Linked DNA regions of Homo sapiens: region 2 is linked to region 1. The links are contacts of gene promoters, found by promoter capture Hi-C in blood cells and fetal thymus (Javierre and others, 2016). All regions are on one chromosome and are shown on one strand. Each heading gives the region's core, a stretch centred on a gene start or on the middle of the fragment in contact. The rest is flanking DNA. Distances are from core to core; before and after follow the strand shown. Region 1 holds the start of ANKRD12 (ankyrin repeat domain 12). Region 2 overlaps TWSG1 (twisted gastrulation BMP signaling modulator 1).

Region 1 (5,641 bases), core at 2,377-4,876:
AAAATGATTCCCTAGGGCTCTAAAGAACAGACTTAAAGGATTGATGACACAATGTGAAGGGCAAAGCCAGAGGGGGTTGAAAAGATATAAACTGAACAAGTTCTTTCTTTAGGTAAATCTGTGGCAGGAACAGGTAAATTAGCAAAGCCAGGGAATAGTGGTGGAGGGGTGACATACAGTAAGTCTGAGCTGGGCTCTAGAAACAGAGGTCAGACAGGGCAGAGGTGAGCAATTACCTGGGAAAGCGTGTGTGGGGTTGACAGACAGGTTCTTCTCCCTCTATGCTGCCTGTCTTCATAAATTGCTCCATCAGGACTTGTTCTTGTTTGCTTCCTTTTGTGGCTGCTATGGCCATCCTGGTTTGGAAACTTTTTTCAGAAAATTACTACTACTAATATAGTCTTTATAATACATAAATACAAACTGATTTTGACTTCGCTGCTTCTAAGGGACATTGTCCCAAATCATATTTCCTCAAGGAATCCAGTTTCTATTTCCAAATACAATGTATAAGTGTGTGTATTCCCTCTATTCACTGTGACTGTGGATCTTGATCTAAATAAAATTCAACTCTAAAAAGAAATACAGTGCTCTAGTTTATTAAAACATGGTTTTTAAAAATGTTCTCTGGGGTTGGGTATTTTTGCCGTAGTTCTTTGCTTTGATTCTTGGGTAGATGCTGAATCTCCCAAATTTGGTTTCTCTAACTGTAAAATAAAGCCAGTATCACTTGTCTTGTGGCATCGTAAGGATTCAATGAGCTAGTGTATGCATACTGCTCAGTAAATAGGAACTATTATTAGGGCTACTTTTGTATTTTTTATGTTTATGGTGAAGTCTGATGTTTTTCCATATTTAAATTTAGGAAGAGAAAATCTTGCATCAGTTGAAATGTTTGAATTAAATAATCTATGCTAGTTCTTAGGGTAAAAATAGTTACTTAACTGGGCTCTTGTGAGGTAACCATTACAATTTAAGTAAAAATTTACAAATGTTAATCATTAATAGTTTAATATTACTTTTCATTTCAGGAGTGGACGCTTCTCTTGTGAGCCAGCTGGAGGTCTTACCTCTTTGACTGAACCACCCAAGGGACCTGGATTTGGTGTACAAGCAGGCCTTTAATTTATATTGAACTGTAAATATGTCACTAGAGAAATAAAATATGGACTTCCAATCTACGTAAACTTATTTGTTTATTCTGCTCTGTGTACATCCTCATGCTAACCGTAGCAACTTGCAGCTCTAAGTATTATGTCATAATGACAGAGGACCATTTTAAAGTCTTCTATCTATGGCTGTGAAGACATCATTATATAATCTAGTTAACAGTTACTCTAGTGTCACCCATTTTCAATTTCCAGATCGCTTTTATCAAGATCAGGTTACTGTGAAGTAAAAATTTGGTTAAATTACAAATGTTTTGCTTTCCCATCTTTAGCCACAGCCAAGTTTTAAGTTAACATGATCTTTCTATAAACTTTGTCAGTGCTCCCTTTAAACATTATTTAAAACACATAATTGTTACTGTATTTCCAACTGGTAAGACCTCAAGCACACTGTAGGTTTAAGGAGGATATGGTAGTTGTCTCTAGAAGCCTTTTTTTTTTTTTTTTTTTTTTTGAGACGGAGTCTCGCTGTCTCCCAAGCTGGAGTGCAGTGGTGGGATCTCGGCTCACTGCAAGCATTACAGGCGTGAGCCACCACGCCCGGCTTAAGCATTACCATTTTTAAAAAAGAAAGGTCCAAAACACTTGACATTATCCTTAGCTATTCTGACACTGCAAGTATACAAAAAATAATTGGGTGAAGGGATTGGAAGTATGATTATGTACTCTGCAGTGGTATGGATATTACAACTTAGAAAAAAGGATAAACCCTTTTGTGTATTTAAGAAATTAGCTGTAGTACATTAGTTTTGCATTAGCCAGCTTTAATGCATGAATAATTTATATTAATCTAATCCTCGATTTCTCAAAGTCACCTGTACTTGAAACAGACTATTCACTAGTAATTATGCTTTTTTTTTTTGAGACAGGCTGTGTCCCCAGGCTGGAGTGCAGTGGTGTGATCTTGGTTCACTGCAATACCCTGGCCTCAGCCTCCTGAGCAGCTGGGAGCACAGGCAGGCGCCACCAGCCTGGTTAATTTTCATATATTTTTTTAGAGACAGGGTCTTACTATGTTGCCTGGCTGGTCTCAAACTCCTGGGCTCAAGCCATCTGCCCGCCTGAGCCTCCCAAATTGCTGGGATTACAGGCGTGAGCCACTGCGCTCGGCTATAACGATTATTTTTAAGTATGTCTTTAAGATTTTTTTTTTAATTGAGAGAAGGTAAACAACAGTTAATTTTCCAAGTGGCACAAAAAAGTAACAATGAAAATGTCCTACCCTGGAGCTCTCCTGACTTTCTCATAGGCGACTGTTTTTTTCTTTGTATTTCACATCATAAATAACCAAGTTAAATGTAACACTATTCCACCTCTAGCCATAAGGTGCTCTTTTTCTAGTCTTGTTGACCCTAAAGATTTGTAGGTGGGAGAAATCAGGAACCCAGGAAAGGAAAAACTCCTGATCTTTAATGCAGGTTTATGCTTTACATAGTAATTTGATGGGACCTCGCCGTCCCTGTCAGGTCTGAATGTCACTTCATCTGCTGTGATCACACCTGAACCCTCAGTTCATCAAGACGTTAAAGGACAGTGTAACATAAACTTGTAACTGCATGCACTAAGTCATAAACAGACGCTGTTGTTGCAGATTAACCTCTACGTAAATAACGCGCCCAGAAGGGAGTGAGTACACGCTGCTGCCACGCTGCGACGGTCAATTTTCCTCCGGCACCCTTCCTAGTACCTGAGCAGCTCCCTCTCAAATCCCCAACACTACGTGTGGGAGGGTGCACTGAATTCCTCTTTAAAAAGGCCACTGGAAGGCGTGGCTGGGAGGGGACGCGCTCTAGACCCCCTGGTGCCAGGGCAGGTGCACGCTACCGCGCTTTCGGGGCGGGGCCCAGGGCCCCACCTGAGGCGGGGGGCCGCGGGCTCTGGGCGTAGGTGCAGCTTCTCCGGCCTGGTGCGGGGCCAGACGGCCGCCGCCGGCTTAGCGGGGGAACTTCGCCTAGTCCTCGGGCTGCGGTCGCAGCGTCATTTTGCCTGAGTTGGATCACGCTCGTCCACCCACCCCGTGTAAAAATAACAGGTGAATACCCTATGTGGGGGTCCTCATCGCCGCCATTTCCAGAAGCTTCCAGTCACAGCCACTGCCACGGTCGCCACAAATGCTACTGCAGAGCCCGCTTGCCCAGCAGCGTCACCGGCGCCTGCCCTGCCTCTTCGCCCAGCCTTTGATTCCCCCTCCTTTGTCGGATAGTGTCTGCGGCGGGGAGGCGGTGACACTAGTCCGAGTGGGGCGTGGAGACCGACCAGCACGAAGGGCGGAGTTCCGGCCCGCACCCCTCCGCCGCCTGCCGCTTGGTACGTCCCGCTTCCCCGCCCTGCGGCTCGCGGAGCCTGGCTGAGCAGCAGGAGGGGCGGGCGCCGGGGGGCGGGGCGGTCACGCCGCCCGTCCCGTGCCCGCGGTAGTCACGTGTCCGCGGGTGTCACGTGCTCGCGTCGCAGCCAATCGCGGGGCGACGCTGTCCTGGGAGCGAGGAGGCTGTGGTGAGAGACGGACCGAGACCGGAGATGTTTTCAAGCCCGGCTCCGGCGGCTTTACAGGCGGCTGCAGCGGCGACGAAGACAACGACAGCGACGGCTACGCCGAAGCACTCGTTCCGGGGGTGAAGCCTCCTGCGCCGGCCTTGCCTCGGGTCCGTACGGGTGAGGGGGGCGTGGCGACAGGAAAGGAGGAAGGAGGGGCGCGGTTTCGAGCTTGTCCCCGGCGCCAGGGAGGAGATCCCCTCAGTTCTGCGCTGCTCCCGTTCCCCCTCCCCAGAGCAAGGTAGGGGACGCGCCCTGCCCGCCCCCCCCGGTCCCGACGCGCCGCCCGCCCAGCCTGGCCCGAGCCGTAGCTCGCCTGACAGTGACAGGCCGTTAGTGCCCCCCGGCGCGGGTCCGCCGGGGCCCCGCCCGCCGCCGCCCCTCCCGGCGTCGCGAGGAGCCGCGGCGCAGGTGGGAGCCGCCAACTGGGCGGGGGCGCTGCGCGGGGCGGGGCGGGGGCCGGGCGGAGGGCCGCGAGCTGGCCTCGTCGCGGGCGCCCCTCACCGCGGCTGGCGGGGCTGGGCTGCCGCCGCCTCCCGGAACATGGCGGGGCCGGAGGAGCGTGTGCGTGCGAGTGTGAGTGTGCGCGGCCGAGAGGGCGCCGCTGGCGTGCGGCGGTCGGACCCGCGGGGGCGGGGGCGCGCCCGGCCCGCCGCGCGTTCCCGCCGCCAGCCGCCGAGCGTGCGCCGACGCCGGGGAGTCTGCCGCGGCCGCTCGGGCCGGGAGCGTCGGAGGTACCCGGGTCCTGGGAGAGGTGGATGAAATCAAGAAGGGGAAATTGCTGCTTTAGTAGTGTCCGGGGAAAGAGCAGCCACTCTACAGTTCTGTCTTAAATGCCAGTGTAAAATAACCTTGCCGCATTGGACAGGCAGTTCCCGTCATCGTTTTTCAAGTACCCACTTGTGATGCTTCAAGACCCCTGGAGCACGTCAGGTTCTTAGATCTCGTTTTGAGGAGTGATGTGGAGTGACGCATCCTTACAGATCCCAAAGCGTTGAATAAACGGTTGTACAAAGAGGTATGCGAAGCTTAGCTGACAGCTGTTTTAGTAATAACAGTAAGACGCTGTCTGGGATAGGAAGTTACTGTTGCACTCGTTGAAACCTTAGGAAACATTTAAAGCAGTGTAGTCACCGGGATTGTAATTTCCACTGGACACCCGTGGTTAAACTGCGAACTAAGGTGAAGTGTGTTGCAGATCCAGTGCTGTGTATGTAATGGTTCGGAATTACCTCTAATCCTAAAGTTGAAATGAGCCTGCATCTGCAGTCATGTATTTCGTTTTCATTTTAGAATGGTTTATGTAAATTATAAAGAAAGGCTAGTGAAATAGCTATTTTATCGTAAATTAACTGTGTATTAAAAACATATGCACAGCCGGGCGCGGTGGCTCATGCCTATAATCCCAGCACTTTGGGAGGCCGACGTGGGTAGATCACCTGAGGTCAGGAGTTCGAGACCAGCCTGACCAATATAGTGAAACCCCCGTCTCTACTAAATATACAAAATTAGCCAGGCGTGGTGGCGCATGTCTGTAATCCCAGCTACTTGGGAAGCCGAGGCAGGGGAATCGCTTGAACCCGGGCGGCAGAGGTTGCAGTGAGCCGAGATCGTGCCACTGCACTCCAGCCTGGGCCACAAGAGCGAAACTCCGTCGCAAAAACATACCAAAACAAACAAACAAACAAACAAAAAAACATATGCTCAAGTAGGCCGTTAAAAATCTTGGGCACTGATCTGAGTTTCTTTAATCGTTATACAAAGCCTTTCCTGGAGATTAGCTCAGAACTGGCAGAACATATGCTCTATTGGTGCCAAGTGGCTTAAAAGCAAAATGAGGATAGTGTCCACCGTGTAAGATGAAGTCGTTATATTAACAGTCTTGTTGAGAAAAATCTTTAATTTGGGTTAAAAGCAGGAGCCTTTAAAAATTTGAAATG
Region 2 (6,374 bases), core at 2,964-5,463, 270 kb after region 1:
CTGCATTTGCAGGTTTTTGTTTGTTTGTTTGTTTGTTTGTTTTTTGAAATGGAGTTTCACTCTTGTTGCCCAGGCTGGAGTGCAATGGCGCAATCTCGGCTCACTGCAACCTCTGCCTCCCAGGTTCAAGTGATTCTCCTGCCTCAGCCTCCCGAGTAGCTGGGGTTACAGGTACCCACCACCATGCCCGGTTAATTTTTTTAATTTTTAGTAGAGACAGGGTTTCGCCATGTTAGCCAGGCTGGTTGCAAACTCCTGGCCTCAGGTGATCCACCTGCCTCGGCCTCCCAAAGTGTTGGGATTACAGGCTTGAGCTACCATGCCTGGCCTGCATTTGCAGTTCTGTTTGTTGTCTGTTTTTAACTTATGGATCTATCATTTTCTACTTAGTTCTGTGGATTCTCTGATTCCTCTACTAAAAATATAAAAATTAGCCAGCTGTGGTGGTGCATGCTTGTAATCCCAGCTACTCGGGAGACTGAGGCAGAGAATCACTTGAACCTGGGAGGCGGAGGCTGCAGTGAGCCAAGATCACACCACTGCACTCCAGCCTGGGTGGCAGAGTGAGACTCCATCTCAAAAAAAAAAAGGAAATGCCCAGTTTAAAAGCACAGCTGTATAACATAGCAAATGTTTTTAAGCCCAATAATCCAACTTTTCGATCAAAGCCTGAAATCTAATAAAAGAAGCTAAGGAAGCCCTTTGCCTTCTTCAGATGGAGTGGGAGAATCTGACTTCCTTCTCAACATAATTAATAAATGAAGATCTTTTTTCCTGTACCTCATCTTTGTCATGTACAGACCAGTAATAAGAGAACCAAGATAAATAACTGTTAATATTCAACTAGGTAATAAAGCATTTTATTTTTTTGTTTTTCTTCTTTCTTGCCCTGAAATCTTAAATTTTTGTTTTTCAGAACACATGTGTACTGTGGTTTATTTTGATGACTGCATGTCCATACATCAGTGTAAAATATCCTGTGAGTCCATGGGAGCATCCAAATATCGCTGGTTTCATAATGCCTGCTGCGAGTGCATTGGTCCAGAATGTATTGACTATGGTAGTAAAACTGTCAAATGTATGAACTGCATGTTTTAAAGAAGACAAATGCAAACCAAAGCAACTTAGTAAAATAATAGGTATAAAAAGTTATTCTGTAAGTCTGTTGGTTGTATCTTGTATCAGAATCCCAGTAAGTTAAGTTGTAAAGACTTTGGAATAAGTTTCTTTTAAAAATATGACATAGCCAGTGATGTGTTTAATTATATAACTGTTCTTACTGATTTTATTGCCCCCTAGCAATAAGCCCTTTCCTTTGAATACATGTACAACTTTGGTCATATGAGAAGCAGGTGCGCAGAGAATTCCTTGAAAGATCTGAGGTTTTTAACATGAAGTCTGACGTGGTTTTCCTCTAGCATTCCAAAAGGTTTTTGCTTTGAAAGTGTTAGCAGAAGCATGTTGATGTGAATTATGATTTCTTCATGTGCTACTGTTAGCACACTGAGTTTTTATAGTTGCACATCATTCCTCATTGTGCCTTGTTTTATCCATTTTATAAATAGAGTAGATATTTGATATACCACTCTGATAACTCATATAAAAATATCATCATAAAAAGCTTAATTTCATCCCTTTTATGTTGGTTTTAAAAGGTAAATGCTTACCATATTTTATAATTGAGAACTCTTACATAGTAGAATCCATTCTATAATACATGTGTTGACAAAGCTTTAGAGAAAGTTTCCTATTCTCTTCCATTTCCCCTGCCCAAAGTGCTGACATAGGCAGTGATGAAGAATCTTTACCAAGATTTTCAGGGTGTACCTATGAAATTGCTTTAAATGCACTGCTGGTGTAAATAATTAGCAAGCAAAGCGTTTCTGTGACTTCAGGTACCAGCTTAAAGAGCACTAGGGATGGGGAACGAATGCCAAATCAGACTCCACCTAGAGCACCAGGAAACAGCTTGTACCCTGGTAGGGAAATGGTGTTGCTGAAAGGGGAGGCTGAGCCAGTGCGAGACTGAACTTGTGCAGCCTTAGCCAAGACAAAGCAGTGTTTTTCAGCAGACGGCTGATGGGACAGGAATTGAAGAAGAGAATTGACTCGTATGAACAGGACAGGGTGAAAATGCTGGGAATTATTATGGGAAACAAAACTATCTATGTTCATATTTTGTAATATTTCATTTGTTAAGTTTATATCTGGATATAATGTTCTTTTTAAACAAGTATAATCATATCGTCGGAGGTTAAGATTATGAAATTTTAGAATCTCTATTCAAGATGATGTTCACTCCAAATACACTACAGAATTTAGTCAACATTTTATATAATGTTTCAATAAATGTTTCTTTCAATAAAGATACTATGTGCCCTTCATAGTAATAAAATCTCAATCTTAAAGCATGAATCTAAAACATAAATATTTATATTACAGACTCAATTTTACAAAATTACTAATTGCTCTAGTGCATATTTGAACTACAAGCAACTTTTTAGGAATACCTCTTTATACGTCTACATATTTTAGTATATAAAAATAGATAATGCTCTTGGACACATTTTGTATTATTCATGATCTGAATAGTAGTTAGTTAAAAGATCATTTGTAATATTATGATCAACTGTTATAAATTAAGGTCTTAATACCTTTTCTGCTCTTTCAAATAACTCTAATGAATATTCAAGATATTTTAGCCTTTTAAAAAGTTGAGATTTAGCTCATGGATATATTTTTTGGTAGGGAAACATTAGGGTCTCCTTTTCTTCCTTTTACCTAGAATGCCTCATTTAAAAGTGCCTTGAAAACATTTAGCTCCCCTTCTTCATGAGCATCTGTAGAGCTGAAAGTATTCTGGAACTTTAGACAGAAAGCTGAAAGGAATCTGCAGTCTCCTGCTGCAGTTCAACTCTGCTGTTTTTCAGTCATTTCCTACTGTGAGTGGAGTGATGTTTGTGTGTGTGTTGGCAACATGCCTAATGTTTTCTTAATGATGACAACAAATATTTTAAAACTGCATTTATCATTTTTTAGGTCTTCATTAAATTTTAAAATGTAATATCTGTTTCCCACCCCCTACATTAGGAGGATAATTTCTTAAACCACATTGTTTTAATTGATTTTTCTTATCTTGATTTCTTTCATTAGAAACTATCCCTAAATGTAAAGATCTTTTGCCTTCAAATTTGGCTTATTTTTTCTGATTTATGAGGGTTTGAAAGAAAGAATTCACCTAAAAGATTCCATTTCCAGTTTTATAATGTATTTCAGGTTCTGAATAACAATATTTTTCCAAATTGAAAGTAAATATTCCAGAAGTTGATAGCCTGGTTAAAAGTTAGATCCTCTATTACCATTCTAAGCACATTCACTTCTATATTGAAGTTTTGGTAAAAATTCTTTTTTCTTTTTTAATAAAAAATTAGGTTATTACTTTTTTTATAACCAGATTTTTAAAGCACTAGGTTTTAAATCAGTGGGTATCATAAAAGCCATATATAAAAGATCCTTTCTTATAGTAAGACTTGTGCTTGTTAGCAGGTTTTTCTGTTAGTTTTTCCCCCATAACATTTAATTATTACTAAAATTGTATTTACAATAGTGGTGCCAAATCAAATGGTAATTTAAATAAAATCTATTCTGTGTTTATGTAGGGTGGTATAAAAAAGAGGTCTTCATTTAGACATGTGATTTCTAAAATTCCAGAAAGCAAAATTGATAAGATGTTAGAAATTTGGACCATTATTTATAATCAGGGTAGCATTAAAATGGAGAAAAGAAAGTTTTCTGAAAAAATGCAGTAAATATAAGCCACATTTCTAAAGTTTATTTTTATGAAAGCTTCTTTTAAGATTTTGAAATCTATTCTGCATTCCCAAGAGTTTATGTTTATTGTATTTTATATGATCTACAACATATAAAATTGTGTATTTTTCTTTGGTTGTCCCTATTAACAAAAAAGTATTTTAATAAAAAATTGAAATGAGTGAGTCATATTTTTTGTTAACTTCAGCATAGACATAAATTTGACATTCTGTCTAAAGAAGATAGTGTTTAAGTGATCAGCGGGCCGGGTGCGGTGTCACTTTGGGAGGCTGAGGTGGGCAAATCACTTGATCTCAGGAGTTCAAGACCAGCCTGGGCAACATGGTGAAACCTCGTCTTTACAAAAATAAAAAAATTATCCGGGCATGTTGATGAGAGGTGAAGCCACCTGGACTTCTTGTTTCGAGTGGGGACTTGGAGAACTTTTCTGTCTTACAAGAGGATTGTAAAATGCACCAATCAGTGCTCTGAAGCTAGCAAGAGCATTGTAAAATGCACCAATCAGTGCTCTGTAAAACACACCAATCAGCGCTCTGTAGCTAGCAAGAGGGTTGTAAAATGCACCAATCAGTGCTCTGTAAAACACACCAATCAGCAGGATCCTAAAAGTAGCCAATCGCAGAGAGGATTGAAAAAAGGGCACTCTGATAGGACAGAAACAGAACATGGTGGGGAGGGGCCAATAAGGGAATAAAAGCTAGCCACCCCAGCCAACAGCGGCAACCAGCTCGGGTCCCCTTCCACCCTGTGGAAGCTTTGTCCTTTTGCTCTTCACCATAAACCCTGCTATTGCTCTCTCTTTGGGTCCGTGCCATCTTTAAGAGTTGTAACACTCACTGAGAAGGTCTGCGGCTCCATTCTTGAAGTCAGCAAGACCACGAACCCACCAGCAGGAGCCAACTCCAGACACAGTAATTATGTGCCTGTAGTCCCACCTACTCTAGAGGCTGAGGTGGGAGGATCACTTGAGCCCAGGGAGGCGGAAGCTGCAGTGAGCCCTGATTGTGCCACTGCACCTCTGCCTGGGTGACAGAGCAAGACCCTGTCTTAAAAAACAAACAAACAAAAAAAACAATCAGCAAAGAATGTTCTTTTCTCAGGATGTCTCTACAGATTCTCTCAGAACAGATCTTAGAACATTTTGCTGTCTGCTTTTTCATATGCTTTATTCCAATATGGGGGAACCTTTTAAATGAATACTTTACTATTCTGCTTGCTCTGTGGGCCTTCAGATGCCAACCAACTTTATAAGAATGATCTAAAGGTTGCAAGGAGTTGCAGAAGGATCAAGGTAGGGAAAAACCTTTCTCAGCTCTCCCACAGGATACTGTTAGAATTGAGAGCCACAAACTGTGCTGCCATGGCAAAATCCACCTTATTTCAGAGTCCATGTTTTGGCAGCCTCGTGCCTGGGGGATCTAGAGAGGGGAAGAACTCAAGAGGACAGCCTGAGTGACTTAAGAAAGGAGCTGGGGCATTCGGAAGGTAGGATGAGTTTCAAGGACAGATACAACGTTTGACCAGGAAAGCTGTGCTTTTGCTGAAGGTGTCCACACAGCAGCTAGTCATGTGGACAGTCAGAGAGAGTGAAGCTGAGCTGGAAGGGGAGGCATCCAAGCCCAAGGCTCCAGGAGACATTGCAGACAACATGGCGCATCCGGCCCCATGGGGCTGCTCCAGACCTGGCAGGCACTGAGCTCAGTAAGCCAGGCAGACATGCCATTAGCGCCATTAGCTGGTGGGTGTTAGCCATTACAGCTCTTTGACCTTTGAGCTTTAACTAACCAGTAAAAAGTAAATGTGGGCCAGGCGCAGTGGCTCACGCCTGTAATCCCAACACTTTGGGAGGCGGAGGCGGGCAGATCACCTGAGGTTAGGAGTTCGAGACCAGCCTGGCCAACGTGGTGAAACCCCGTCTCTACTAAAAAATACAAAAATTAGCCAGGTGTGGTGGCACGTGCCTGTAATCCCAGCTACTCAGGAGGCTGAGGCAGGAGACTCGCTTGAAGCCGGGAAGCGGAGGTTGCAGTGAGCCGAGAATGCGCCGCTGCCCTCCAGCCTGGGCCACAAGAGTGAAACTCCGTCTCAATTAAAAAAAAAAAAAAAAAGTATGTTCTACCTCCTTTTATTTTAAAGTCTGCTTGAAGTGTGGAGTCAGCAACAACTCCAAGGTTTGGCTTTTGAGATGAGAATTCTCCGTGCAGATGCAAAGAGGAAAAGAATTCTGCCCCCTCCCAGTAATGCTGGGAAACCTGGAGTCCGCGCTGTGACTCACCGAATGACGCCTGGAGAGTGCAGGCGCCCCGCCAGTCAGGGAGACAGGACTTCCCTCACTGGGCTGAAGATAGCCCCTGAAGTTAGGCACAGTCACCGGCGAAATATCTTTATGGCAGAAATGTGTTTCCTGCCCGTCTAACTTAGGTACTTCCCTCTGCAGCCAGCGTAATCTTTCTAGAACACGTGTACCGGTAATTACTGCTTCCACCCCCAGTTCTAGGCAAAGAGCAAGGCCGTTGCGCTCGTCTGCCTCGGAAAGGTATGAG

The links. The method cuts DNA at HindIII sites, captures the fragments that hold promoters and counts their contacts. A CHiCAGO score of 5 or more calls a contact.
Region 2: a fragment that was not itself captured here is called in contact with the fragment with the promoter of ANKRD12 in region 1 in 1 of 17 cell types (megakaryocytes); the score reaches 5.6 in megakaryocytes.

The regions. Positions count from the first base shown.
Region 1 is chr18:9,133,155-9,138,795 of GRCh38, forward strand. ANKRD12 (ankyrin repeat domain 12) reads left to right here and starts at 3,627. Exons shown (of 13, transcript NM_015208.5): 1 at 3,627-3,811. NDUFV2-AS1 (NDUFV2 antisense RNA 1) reads right to left here and starts at 3,566. Exons shown (of 3, transcript NR_110772.1): 1 at 3,210-3,566; 2 at 237-356. NDUFV2 (NADH:ubiquinone oxidoreductase core subunit V2) reads left to right here. Exons shown (of 8, transcript NM_021074.5): 8 at 1,032-1,187. The coding sequence ends at 1,125. RefSeq lists silencers at 2,729-2,902, 2,905-2,994, 3,345-3,694, 3,905-4,304, 4,345-4,394 and enhancers at 3,185-3,234, 3,725-3,774. The HindIII fragment of the contact is 1,483 bases long and covers 3,245-4,727 here.
Region 2 is chr18:9,398,430-9,404,803 of GRCh38, forward strand. TWSG1 (twisted gastrulation BMP signaling modulator 1) reads left to right here. Exons shown (of 5, transcript NM_020648.6): 5 at 917-3,991. The coding sequence ends at 1,098. LOC105371980 (a long non-coding RNA gene) reads left to right here and starts at 5,964. Exons shown (of 3, transcript XR_001753550.2): 1 at 5,964-6,367. The HindIII fragment of the contact is 739 bases long and covers 3,845-4,583 here.